3 separate regions of the Homo sapiens genome follow, and regions 1 and 2 are each linked to region 3. Evidence: promoter capture Hi-C in human tissues and cell types (Jung and others, 2019). All regions are on one chromosome and are shown on one strand. Each heading gives the region's core, a stretch centred on a gene start or on the middle of the fragment in contact. The rest is flanking DNA. Distances are from core to core; before and after follow the strand shown. Region 1 overlaps TSC22D1 (TSC22 domain family member 1). Region 2 overlaps TSC22D1 (TSC22 domain family member 1). Region 3 holds the start of NUFIP1 (nuclear FMR1 interacting protein 1).

Region 1 (4,309 bases), core at 93-2,592, 530 kb after region 3:
AGAGCAAATGGCCATTAATTTGCAAATACATTTTTTTCATGAAATCCTCTAATCAAATGCCACACATTTAAGGAGTTAGCTATTTGTTTAAAAAGGCCATTTTGAAAGAGAGAACTGTTCTCTTTATGCAAACCTCCTAATGAAATTCAACAGTGAATCTGATTTTATTTGCATTGACCCACCTCTGAGTTTAAGTTTTTTATGTTTAACATATGGGCTGTTTAGCCACCTTAACTTCTAATTCAAAGTCAACCAGTAATTAAACTGCAGTTTAGCTAGAACTGCTATTTCTATAATTCTGGATAGACTGAAGAGTAATACAGATATGTGAGAAGCTTGCAGATTTGTCAAATAAGTTGAATTTGATGTATGGATGTTAGGTCATTACCACACTTAAAAGAAATTTCCATGGACTGTTTGCTGAAAATTCATAATTTTAGGAAATACCATGTAGCTTTTATGTCTATTTATTACTTTTGTTCTCTATGCTTATACAGAGATGGTGATGTCTGTTTTTGTTACTTTGTCAAGTAAAACTGATCCCTTTAATCAAACACATGAGAAACTCATAGGCAATATTTTCTTGTATGATCAGCTTTAGTTTTTATTTTAGAACTAGGATTAGTAGGGGAAAGAAAGAAAGTATTAAGTGATCTCTTTCATTGATGACTGGCAGGATTTAAACTGTTTAAGTTCCTCAAACTCTTTGTAAGTGCAATATGCATCTAAAATCTTTATAATTTATAGTTTGTAATTATATGTTAGCTGTAACTCTTTACTTTTCACAAATAAGTGAACAGTTTTTAAAAATTCCCAAACACATTAATCGTCCTAATGGATCTGAGACATACCATGCTTGATTCTTTTTGTTCCTTATTCTCCTGTACTCTAGTTTTATGACTTATTTTGTGTTCCTTTGAGGGTCTTTCTGAATTTTTATATTATCTTATTGATTTGGAAATAGAGCCTATATCAACTACTTAAAGCACCCAGACAAATACTATAAGTAGAGGAACCTCTAATATCTTGTATCTCATAATATGGACACTTTACAGATCTTGATATTGTATAAGATTTGTTTTTATTTAGATTTTTGTGCTGTAATTGTACACATTGCCATTTGTAGGCTTGTAAATGGTTTACTGGAGTAGTGATCCATATAACTGAAAGTAGTGTGGGCCAGAATATATAGCTTGAACATTTGCTATAATAAAATGATCACAGAGTAGGACTCAGAGGCTTATTAGAAATATATCAGTACTTCTTTCTTTTGTTGAACAAGTCTGCTTTCTTTTTCCATAAAATAGATTAAATGAGGCCATTGTGATGTAGAGTTTATAGAACCATATTTTCTATGGTCCAGCACCTTTCCAAAAATGTTTGTAAAATAGATGTTTGATGTTATGTAACTTGAACAAAACAAGGTGCTTAGTTAAATGATAGTAATTTTCTTGTTACTCTGCTGAAATAACATTCAAATATATTTGTGGGGGTAATCGCAGAGTCACCAGTCTGAATTATTCTTATTGTGTAATGGTTTCTGTATAATACATAGTCCTATTTGTTATTGTAATAGACTCATTTGAAATGATGTTTACATTTTGATTACCTGGCGTCTTTTAAAATCATTTATCTCCCCTCTCCCTCCAGCAGAAACCCTTTAACAGAATTTATTCCTGGTCTCTGCTTTTGCCTTCCTTCTGTTCATACTTCATATTATATCTTCATGCTATATATTTAGGAATTGCCTTCCTAAAATACAGAGCTGGTCAGGCTACTCCCCTGCGGTAAACACCCCACTGGTGCTCCTATTTCCTAAAGGCAGGGTTGATATTTCGCTGGTTTGCACTAGTTAGGTTGAACTGGCCATTTACAACTGGTATCTGTTCTGATTGGCTGGGGCTCATGTGCTGTGGGGTGAATTTCGGATTCCTTAGCAGTGTTTTCAGTGTTTTGGGGGATTAGAAGATCTCTGAATGAGTATTTATCTGCCTTAATTTCCCACCATACTGTAATTATTTCAGAGGACCCTACTGTTTGGGCACCTTCCATAACGATGCTTTGACTTACTGCCTCTGTTTTGGACATTTTCTGCTTTTCCCTTAATACAGTCATTCTCTGGTCTAATTAATGATTTTAAGATTATTCTTGATGATTTAATTTAGGAGAAAATTCCTTGGTGAAATCTTTACTGACTACTCACCATCTAGTACTTTACTCGGTTACCTTCTCTTATGCTTTCCTGGTACCTGCCATATACCTAAGATATCACACTTATTACTTTGCCCTATAATTATTGCTTACACATCTACCACCCCTTCTGGACTATGGGCCAGTCACAATGCTTACCACAGGTAGGCACTAAATAAATATTTAAGTGTATGGAAAGAAGTTAGATTTTTGAGTCAGAAAAACCTGAGTTCATATTCCAGGTCAGCTATTATACTTACTAGCAGTATGAGAGTGAACAAATTAATTTTGCATAGTCTCAGTTAACTACTAATTTGTATATGCAATGATAATAGACGTGAGTTGAATATTAAGCAAGATACTGTGTACCATGCTTATTATATTACCTAGGATTTAGCTGTTCAATAAACATTCCACTGTCCTAGTTAAATTTGGTTTAAAAGTATTGTTTTGCATTTCCTTTTCTCTTTGAACTTTAATTTATAACAAGAAAGCTGTTTTTATCTGAAAACATCTCTGTTCTACTGGTCTGTGATAAAGCTAGATGATAAATTATATCATTCCTACTGCTAAGAAAAACCATTGTTTTCACATTTCTACTAGCATTTTTTGGTTTGAAAGCTTTTTAGAAGGAGGGCTTCTTCACTCCTCGAAAGAAGCCCAGTAACTACTATAATGCCAGGCACAAGATGTTTGTGAATTAAGTATTTGTGGAAAGGAGCTGTGGTGGGAAAGAAAGACTATCTCCTCTTCCTTGTTCTGGGGAGAAGGTCACTTGATTTCCTGCTGGAGCAACAAATATGACAAAATCAAGGGAAGAGAACACTAGAAGCGGATGGGGCCTCCCTCCATAGCTTTTCCTAGAGGACAGTCTAGGAGGGCAGAGATGGCCTCTGTGAAAGAGGCTGCAAGGACTCTAACACAGTTTAGGACATCAAATAAATGGGTGAGGAAGTAAGAGGTGGTTCTCTTTAAAGACATAAAGTAAAAAAATATTAGGAATCACCCTCTGAACTAATTCATCATGTCATAGGGATTAAGGCAAAATTTGAGTTGCCCTTTTACCAAAAACAATGAAGTCACTTATAAATTGCTTCTCCAGATAATTATTCTGTGTCATGGAAAAGGGCATCAAGCTGTATAAAGGTGGTTTTCGTATTTGAAAAAAATTTCCTTTGGAAGTAATCTATAATAATACTTTTTATATTAGGCCATTCTCAAGCAACTCTCTACTTTAAGGAGTAATTTGAGAAATGTGAGGATCTCTTTTGATTAACCCCAATTATGGCTAAAACCAAGTAGTTCAGAACACAAGGGCTTCACCTTAATTGGTCACCTTAATTACTGTGGAAAGAGCCAGGTTCTTTTCTTGTGTTATCTCTTTTAAATGTCATAACAATATTATTGTCACAGGATCCTTGGGGTGTCGCTTTTTCAGCCAGAAACCTCTGTGGCTGGGGGTACCTTTGCTGGAGTTTTCTCAGGCCCTCTGAGCTAATAATTCCACCCACTTGGCCTGGCTGGCTGCTTTCCGCTGGCTGCTCTCCGCTTGTGCTACTGTCCTGGATCCCATGCCTGCCAAGGATGAGACAGGCACCCATGCCTGCCAAGGGTCAGTGGCAAGGGGTGTGTGAAACGAGCCTGGGGTCTCACCACTGTGCACAGCCAGGTGTGCTGGCTGCAGCGGGGTAGGCAGCTCTAGGCGCCGGCTCTGTGCAAGGCTGCGGCTAGACCAGGCATACTGTAAGTGGCTTCCACTGTGGGCACCGGGGAGTGCAGTGGCGCCTGGAAGCTTGGAGATGCCAGGAACTGCAGAGCCCCAAAGAGGGTGTCACAGCCCTGGGTTGGGGAGCCCCTAGGTCTGGGCTTCCTGAAGGGCTGCAGCTCTTCTCTCTTTCTTGTCACCTGCAATGTGGCAAGCCCTGTTTCTGTTACAGCTCTTTCAGTCCCACCACTCGGCAGGTCCTGGGTTCTTGTCTCGTGTCCAGGAAGAATGAGGTATGTGGACAACTGGAGGGAGAGCAAGGCAGAGAGGAGCTTCATTGAGTGACAGAACAGCTCTCAGGAGACCCAAAGTGGGTGGCTGCTTTCTGCAGGCAGGTCGTGCCAATAAGTGTCC
Region 2 (4,436 bases), core at 1,937-4,436, 550 kb after region 3:
ACCTTTCTTTTATTTTGAAGTGTTTAAAATTTATTTTATTTAAATTTTTTAATCAAAATACATGTACATACCCAAAAAGCAAATAGAATGAATAGAAAAAAATAGCAGTTCTCTTTTTTCACTTATCCACTCGGTGCCTTAGACGCAGCCACTTTTAAGTTTTAGTTGTTTTTTCTCATTTTTACCTCCACATTTCTATGTAATATATTTATACTTACACTATTTCTTGCTTTTTCCATTTTAGATGTTAGGTAATCAAGCTGTAGTAGATTAGGATTTAGCAGTTTTAAACCATTCCTGCCATGCAATTTTTCTTCCTGTTACCTTCTCAATAAAGTTAACTTTTAAAAGGTAAATCCACAAAAAAATGAAAAAATAATATGGGTCATGTATATTTTATGAGCATTCCGTGTTTTCTTCCTTGCTCTGTTTTCAGTAAAACTGCCTTTGAGCTTATCTAATTGTTCCATTAGATCTATCATACACCTATCAGTAGCTCACCTGTGCCCTGCAAATGCTTAGATGTGTTAGATAATCTGTGTGTTCATTAGCACGGAAGCTCTCCCTCCTGGAGTTCTCCATCTTCCCTTACCATTGCAGACCAGGTACAGACCAGCTGCAGCTTGGGCTTGTCCAGCAGCAGTCCCCCTGAGATCTCCCTGCACTCCAGCCTGCTGATTCCCTTCCTTTCCTCCAGTATCTGAGTTCCTGGTTCCTATTTCCCATGCCTGCCTTTTTTCTTGATTTGCTCCTCCATTTTGGTGTCTGAAATATCTAAAAATGTTTTAATTCTACCTTTACACTCAAATGATGATTTGGCCAAGTAAAGAATTCTGGATAAAAAAACTCTTTTCTCTCAGAATTTTAAAGACATTTTCTTCATCTTTTTCTGACTGCCAGCAAAGTGGTTCTGTTCCTAGTCCCTGTGTTTGTAACTTGTTTCTTCCATTTGGAAGCTTTTAGTATTTTCTCTCTATGCCTAGTGATTAAGGTTTCAGGGTGGTGTGCTTTGGTGGAGGGCTTTTTCATTTCTTGTGGTGGGCATTTGGTCATCTCATTTAACTGGAGACTTGTGTCCTTCAGTTCTGGAACAATTCTTAAATTATTTGATAATTCTCTTCCTTCTGTTCTCTCTCCAAAATAGAAATGCATCCTATTTTGATGTTGGACCTCCTAGATTTATCCTTTTTCTTTTCCGATTCTTTTTTTTTTTTTTTTTTTTTTTGAGACAGAGCCTTGCCCTGTTGCCTAGGCTGGAGTGCAATGATGCGATCTCAGCTCACTGCAACCTCTGCCTCCTGGGTTCAAGCAATTCTTCGTCAGCCTCCCCAGTAGCTGGGATTATAGACATGTGCCACCACGCCCAGCTAATTTATTTGTTTTTGTTTTTTTTTAAAGTGGAGACGGGGTTTTACCATGTTGGCAAGGCTGGTCTTGAACTCCTGACCTCAAGTGATCCGCCCATCTCACCCTCTCAAAGTGCTGGGATTACAGGCATGAGCCATCGCGCTCGCGCCCGGCCACTGTTCTACTCTTTTGGAAGCTTTTTCCAACCAGCCTTTCTGTGGAGATAAGGAAATGTAAATTGTGGTTGAATTTAACAGCCATTTCTTTGGCATTTCTTCTTGTTTTGACAGTGTGTGGGACCCAACACTAAAACACTATTTGTTGTTTTTCTGCCATTCACATTTAACTGATAGTCCTGTAGTTTCATTTGTTAAACCTGGTAAGTATATTCCCATGCCTAGTGAGAGTAAACTAGAAAAATGGAGGTGACGTGGGAGTCCTTAGACAGCAGTGATTTGGTCAGGTACAGGGTAATGTGCCTTCGCTTCTTTCCTGGCAGTTGTTTTAGATTTGCAAGGAGTTTGGATAGGGGGAGAAAGAGGTTACTCTATTTCAGTGCTGAATCTCCAACTGTACCGGTGTTGGCCAAGTCAGATTAAGTTTGGAAGAAAAGCACATGTTACAGGAAACAGAAACACTCAGGCCTGTTCCTCTTTTCCTATCCTGTCATGCTTGCTACCAATATGCAGTAGCAGTTGAATTGGAATCTGTGTAAAAAGGCTTTTAGGCAGACAACACTAGAAAATACCTCAATCTCAATTGTCCAGGCTGTTTAATGTGTATGAGTTCCCACTGAGGTGATACCTCCTGATCTTTGCTCAGTGCCTGAAATAGACTTATATGGTCCATGGCTTTAAGGATCTCTCCTGGAAGCCTTGTAGTATTTTTCTCTGCCCTGTCAGCAAGTCTCAGTGAGCTCTGATGAGGCACCAGACATATGGATCGTTTGTCTTGCAATTAGAAGAGCCTTTGAATGTAATTCTAGCCATTTGTGCCACGGACATTTCTGATCCAAGGGTTTTCCCTCCATGGAGCTTTCCATTTCCTTTGCCTTCTTTTTCAAATTATGTCTTCTCAGTTTTCATACAAAAGTCTAGTTTTAAAGGAATCTAGCATATTTATGTGAAATATATGAGAAAATTAGATTTCTAATCATTTTTTTAGTTGCCTATCCTTTGGCTCAACAAATTCTCCAGAAGTGTGCACACACACATACATGTTCAAGGATGTATGTAGAAGGATGTTCCTTGCAATTTTATTTAAAATATCCAAGTATTAACAATAACTGTAATGTCCTTCAATAGGAAAATGGGTTAAATAGACTATGGTTGCTTATATTTGCTTCTCTTGCTTGATACAATGGATGATCAGTTAAAATGATTGAAATAAAAACAGCTTTCTGTTTATGTTGAAGAACGGCATGAATAAATTCAGTTAATTTAGTAATTTTTTAAAACTGCAGCTTGGAATTTAAAAATTTTTTTATATGACCTTAGAGTTTTGTTTTTTAAAGCTCTTTTTATAGCTTAAATGGTGCTTTAATACCCTTTTTTCATGAAGTTGGCATTCAGTTAAAACATGTAAATGGAATTTAGCATACAAATAGTTTTAGGTATAACTTTAACTTTCAAAATATAGAGACTATCATGTAGTAAATAATATTCTGGTTAGCATTCATAGACATAGGGACCACATGCCAGCTTCCCAAATAATTACGATTTCTAAGCTTCTACTTAGTCTCCTTTTGTTGGAAATGGGTATCTTTTTTTTTAAAGCATCATATGAGTTAATATATGTAATTTTTATAAATTATAAATATGTTAACAATTATTGTTATTCAAAAGCCAAGCCTTAAAATTTGGAGAATATGAACCTTTCAGTAAAAAGGGAATCTCATCACTTTATAGTTGGTCACACTTTGGTTTTTAACCCAAAAGAGAATTGTGGTCTTCATCATTTACTGTGCTTACCGATCTGGTCTGGTTCCTAATAACTTTGGACAGTTTCTGAAAACCAAATCTACCTACCCCCACTACCAGCATTGAGTCAACTTAAAAACTGTCTAAATGGATCTGATGGCAATTTTAGAAAAGGATGCTGCTTGAGGAAAGATGCTTATTTTGGAGAGAAGACTGTGTGTGTTTGTGCATGTGCGTGTATTACATATATATGTTCTACGGTCAGATTTTATGTTGGAATTATTTGTGATGACACAATTTTATCTACAGATTAGAGAGGTCTCCCCAAGTACTTTGTAGATTTTTTGGTTTTTATATTATGCCATTAGAGGGCAGTATTGTAGAGGTTAAGTTTTCTTTCTCGCATGTATTGACTTGGAAACTGTTTATGTTGTATTATAATTTAGCAAACTTCAGGGCTTAGATTTCTAGTATATTAAATTGTAGCCTTAATTGATGCATCCCTGCAAGTATTTTAAATTAATATAGGAAATTTTGAAAGGGTTAAGCTATTTTATACCCACATCTCTCGATTTTGGTTTGGAGAAGGGAATTATTTGGTCAGTGTGGCCAAGAGGGTGAAACAGAGGTGAGCCTACAGCATCTATTGGCTGCTTAACTATTTTTAACCACCATTATATCCTCCCTTTTCTGGTTCTGGACACTGCAAATGGGCAGAGACTAACTTCAAGGATTTGTATGCTTTGAATACATACTTTATAATATTTCAATCCCTCTGATGTAAGAAGGCTCATAGGATTGAGGGATTGAGTCTTAGAGGAATTGTCACTCAGCTTGCAAAAACGTGCCTTAGGGACTTAACTAAAAATAGATTTATGTGGAATTCAACCTGTGGATTGACTTTTTTGGGTCTAAATAGAAGAAGGCATATTTAGTTACTAGGGAGAAGATGCTAATAGGGAGATGTGATTTTAAGGTTTGTGGCTCTACGGGCTTTTTGGGAAGATCCTGGATTTTATCTGGAGTCTTTCCCTCATGCCTAGCAAAGAATATATAATGTTTTTTGTTTTGTTTCTATAAAACAAAAGGTAGTATCTCTCAAAGAGCAAATGTGATTTTTTTTCCTCTAAAATTAAAAAAATACATGATTGCAGGGTGATTATTATCTTT
Region 3 (4,568 bases), core at 824-3,323:
ATGTGTTTAAAATGACACACTACGTGTAAGATATTGTGCTTGACGAAGAGAAGTCATTCAACAAATATATACGAAGAATCTTTTTCTTTTTTTTTTTTGAGACAGAGTCTCACTCTGTCGCCAGGCTGGAGTGCAGTGGCGCGATCTCGGCTCACCGCAACCTCCGCCTCCCAGGTTCAAGCAATTCTCCTGCCTCAGCCTCCCAAGTAGCTGGGACTACAGGTACGTGCCACCATGCCTGGCTAATTTTTGTATTTTTAGTAGAGACAGGGTTTCACCATGTTGGCCAGAATGGTCTCGATCTCTCGACCTCGTGATCCGCCCGCCTCGGCCTCCCAAAGCGCTGGGTTCACAGGCGTGAGCCACCGCACCTGGCCTTATTTTATTTTTTTAAAGCTATCTCCTACAGGAAGGAAAGCATAATTTTTCACATTTACTTTTATTTATTTATTTATTGAGACAAACTCTCGTTCCGTCGCCCAGGCTGGAGCGCAGTGGCACTCTCGGCTCACTGCAACCTCCGCCTCCTGGGTTCAAGCGATTCTCCTGCCTCAGCCTCCAGAGCAGCTGGGATTACAGGCGCCCGCCACCACGCCCGGCTAATTTTTGTATTTTTAGTAGAGATGGGGTTTCAACATGTTGGCCAGGCTGGTCTTGAACTCCTGAGTTCAAGTGATCCGCCCCGTCTCAGCCTCTCAAAGTGCTGAGATTACAGGCTTGTGCCACCTCGCTCAGCTGGAAGGCATAATTTTTAAAGTGGTTATGACAGAAATTATATTGGAAAGGGGCCTGTAGTAGAAACATAGCCTCCGGGTAGACCAGGAAGAAAAATTAGATTCAGAAATGGCAGGGTTACTCTTTCAGCTTTACTCTTCTCCAACTGGGTGTCGGTGCTAGTCTACAAATGTGAATAAACATTAAAGCAGATAGGTATGCATGCCGGAATCCGAGAAGCATTCGTTTCGTATATACCAAGTGCCTGTTGCGTGTTCAGGTAGAAGACCATAGTGCAATGGTGGAGACAGATTATGTCGACAAATTATTCAAATACAGTGTACTAAATATGCAATGTAATTAGGAAAAAACCCGAGGGCAAAAAGAAAGGCATGACAATGCTTCGGGGAATCTGGAAAGGTTTTATTGGTGTGACATTTAAGTTGGGCCTTGAAGGATGGGGAGAAGTTTGTCAGTTATGTTTAGGAATGCAACCAGAGGAAGCCCAGAAGCCTAGAGCGTTAAGGAATTGCGCAGCAACTCAGACTGGATTGAGTATTGGGCTGTGTTTGTCAGATGCAATAACAGAATGAGAGGCTAGGAAGGCAGGTCGGGGGCTGGAGAGAACAGGATCTGCAAGGTTCTTGTAATCAGAAGGCAATATGGCACAGAGGTTAAGAGAACCGCTTCCTTCTAAGTCGCGCTCCATCACTTGCTAGCAGTATGATCTAGACACTGGCATGGGCTTGGGCGTACCCATTTGCAACATGGGAAAATAGTTTTTTTCTTATACGGCTTAAATGACTGAGTGGGTATCAGTCAGTTAGGGCAGCGTGCAGCTCATATTAAGGCTAAATGAGAATGTATTATCATCACGAAGCCAAACCACGCCAAAGCTCGTTTCTAGGAGGGTCCCCCAGCCTCCTCCCCCCTGCTACTGTTTGGGAAGAGAAAAGTTCTCTCGGGTCAGGCCGCGCCCACTCCCCACTCCTCCGCCCTCCTAGGCCTCCGACTTTCTTCAGCGAGCAGGGCCCGGCCAGGGAGTGGGTAGATGGGCCTGGTGGGCAGCGGAGACGCCGCCGCTTACCAGGGCTCGGGTCCCGCTCTTCGTCCTCCGCTGTTCCGCGGGCCTTGAAGCCGGGCGGCAGGGCCGGTCCGATCAGGTCTCTTGCCATCCGCGGTGGCGGACACTGGTCACAGATATGAGTCTATCCACGAACGTCAACCCTATCCAAAAAGAATCCCGCGATCAGCAGCGAAGAATGGCAGGTTTCCCGGCGCCGAGAAATGACGTAAAGCCTGTGGTTGGCTGAGCCTTGTAGTTCACGGTAAAGGAAGTGACGCCTAATGCTTGCTCCACAGTCGCGTGCTAGACTCCGGACCCGCCAGTGGTATGGCTGAGCCGACTAGTGATTTCGAGACTCCTATCGGGTGGCATGCGTCTCCCGAGCTGACTCCCACGTTAGGGCCCCTGAGCGACACTGCCCCGCCGCGGGACAGCTGGATGTTCTGGGCAATGCTGCCGCCACCGCCACCACCACTTACGTCCTCGCTTCCCGCAGCCGGGTCAAAGCCTTCCTCTGAGTCGCAGCCCCCCATGGAGGCCCAGTCTCTCCCCGGGGCTCCGCCCCCCTTCGACGCCCAGATTCTTCCCGGGGCGCAACCCCCCTTCGACGCCCAGTCTCCCCTTGATTCTCAGCCTCAACCCAGCGGCCAGCCTTGGAATTTCCATGCTTCCACATCGTGGTATTGGAGACAGTCTTCTGATAGGTTTCCTCGGCATCAGAAGTCCTTCAACCCTGCAGGTAGGCTATTTTTCCACGTGAGTCGACCCCTTTACCTTTTTCCCCCGTTCTTTCCTCTCCCCTTTCTCTGCTTCCTCTCTCTACTCTGCCTTGCCTCTGCACTCTTGGAGTCTGGTCATTAGCATCTCAAAGCAAAGTGAGACCCCCGTCTCTACAAAAAAAATAAAATTAGCCAGGCATGGTGGCATGCCTGTGGTCGCAGATGCATGGGAGGCTGAGGCAGGAGGATTCCTTGAACCCAGGAAGTCGAGGCTGCTTTATCAACTAAGTTTATATAATATTGTAAATCCTTTGTTCTCAAAATATGTCTGACTAGAATGTTTTCCTGTTGACTGTTAATTCCATTTAGCAGTTATTTATTGAATTCCGACTATGTACCAGAATCTGGGTATATAGCAGTGAGCAGAACATACAAAAAATATTATGGAGCTTAATATTATCTCTCTTGTGTAGGAAGACAGACAATAAGCAAAATAAAATATTGTGCATTAGAAGGTTGAGTGGCATGGAGAGAGATAAAACAAAGAAGAATGGTAAGTAGTGCAGGATTTTCTTTTTTTCTTTTTTTTTGGAGACAGAGTGTCGCTCTGTCGCCCAGGCTGGAGTGAAGAGTAGCGCGATCTACTTCACTCCAGCCTATGCAGTCTCTGCAGAGAGGCTCACTGCAACCTCTGCCTCCCGAGTTCAAGCAATTCTCATGCCTCAAACTCCTGAGTAGCTGGGACTACAGGCCCACGCCACCACACCCGGCTAATTTTTTATATTTTTAGTAGAAAGGGGGTTGCCCCGTGTTGGACAGGCCTGTCTCTAACTCCTGAGCTCAGGCATCCGCCCGCCTCAGCCTCCCAAAGTGTTGGGATTACAGGCATGAGCCACCACGCCGGGCCAGGTAGTGCAGTTTTAAATGTCATTGTTAGTCATAAGGAAGGTGACATATGAGCGAAGACTTTAGGGAGGTGAGAGATCACAGCCATGCATACAACTGGGAGAATAGGGGTACGGGCAGAAGGAACTGCAAGTGCAAAGGTCTTGAGGCTTAGAAGCTATACATCAGAATGGGAACCAGTGTGGCTACAGAGGACTGAGTCTGGAGTATAATTGTAGAAGATGGGGGAGGAGGGTAAGACCTGGTATGTCTTTGTAGATCGTGGGACTTTGACTTTTACTGTTGTGAGGTGGGTAGTACAGCGGATTGACATGACCTGATTTACGTTTTAAGAGGATTAATGTGTCTGTTGGTGAGAACTGACTGAAAGGGAAACCGGTTAGGAAGCTATTGTAGTTACTTTTCTAAACAAGAGATATTGGAGACTTGGACCAGGGTGAAGCCCAAGGGATGGTGAGAAGTAGTTGGATTCTAGATCTGGGGATACCTTGGAGCTCTTGTGGGTTCAGTTACAGACCACTGCAGTAAAGCAAGTCACACAATTATTTTTTTTTTGGTTTTCCGTTGCATGTAAAAGTATGTTTTCCTGCAGATCCTATGGGGCAAAAAAGTTATTTTTACATTATACCATAGTCTAGTAAGTGTGCAATACCATTATGTCTTAAAAAACAACTTACATACCTTGATTAAAAAATACTTTAGGCTGAGCAGGGTAGCTCACACCTATAATCTGGGCACTTTATTTATTTTTTTTTTTAATTTGTTGAGACAGAGTCTCTGTTGCTCAGGCTGGAGTGCAATGGCGTGATCTTGGCTCATTGCAACCTCCACCTCCCAGGTTGAGGTGATTCTCCTGCCTCAGCCTCCCGAGCAGCTGGTACTACAGGTGCCCGCCACCATGCCTGGCTAATTTTTGTATTTTTAGTAGAGACAAGGTTTCACCATGTTGGCCAGGCTTATCTCGAACTCCTGACCTCAAGTGATCCATCCTCCTTGGCCTCCGAAAAGTGCTGAGATTACAAGCGTGAGCCACTGCACCCAGCCTAATCTTAGCACTTTGAGAGGCAGAGGCAAGAGGATTGCTTGAGCCCAGGAGTTTGAGACCTGCCTGGGCAACAAAGTGAGACCCCCGTCTCTACAAAAAAAATAAAATTAGCCAGGCG

The links. The method cuts DNA at HindIII sites, captures the fragments that hold promoters and counts their contacts. A contact is called where the count stands out against the background at its distance.
Region 1: a contact is called between a fragment that was not itself captured here and the fragment with the promoter of NUFIP1 in region 3, in 2 of the 25 tissues and cell types used here (dorsolateral prefrontal cortex and hippocampus).
Region 2: a fragment that was not itself captured here is called in contact with the fragment with the promoter of NUFIP1 in region 3 in 1 of the 25 tissues and cell types used here (aorta).

The regions. Positions count from the first base shown.
Region 1 is chr13:44,459,383-44,463,691 of GRCh38, reverse strand. The region is part of intron 1 of TSC22D1 (TSC22 domain family member 1); the gene reads left to right. The region is part of intron 3 of LOC124903167 (a long non-coding RNA gene); the gene reads right to left. Among named protein-coding and RNA genes, the nearest start is that of TUSC8, 56 kb to the right of the region's middle. The HindIII fragment of the contact is 4,111 bases long and covers 1-3,397 here.
Region 2 is chr13:44,437,377-44,441,812 of GRCh38, reverse strand. All of the region lies in intron 1 of TSC22D1 (TSC22 domain family member 1), which reads left to right. All of the region lies in intron 1 of LOC124903167 (a long non-coding RNA gene), which reads right to left. Among named protein-coding and RNA genes, the nearest start is that of TUSC8, 34 kb to the right of the region's middle. The HindIII fragment of the contact is 3,872 bases long and covers 1,251-4,436 here.
Region 3 is chr13:44,986,976-44,991,543 of GRCh38, reverse strand. It overlaps NUFIP1 (nuclear FMR1 interacting protein 1), which reads left to right and starts at 2,073. Exons shown (of 10, transcript NM_012345.3): 1 at 2,073-2,519. The coding sequence starts at 2,108. GPALPP1 (GPALPP motifs containing 1) reads right to left here and starts at 2,006. Exons shown (of 8, transcript NM_018559.5): 1 at 1,802-2,006. The coding sequence starts at 1,889. RefSeq lists enhancers at 1,260-1,896, 1,823-2,012, 2,203-2,272, 1,897-2,535. The HindIII fragment of the contact is 10,586 bases long and covers 1-4,568 here.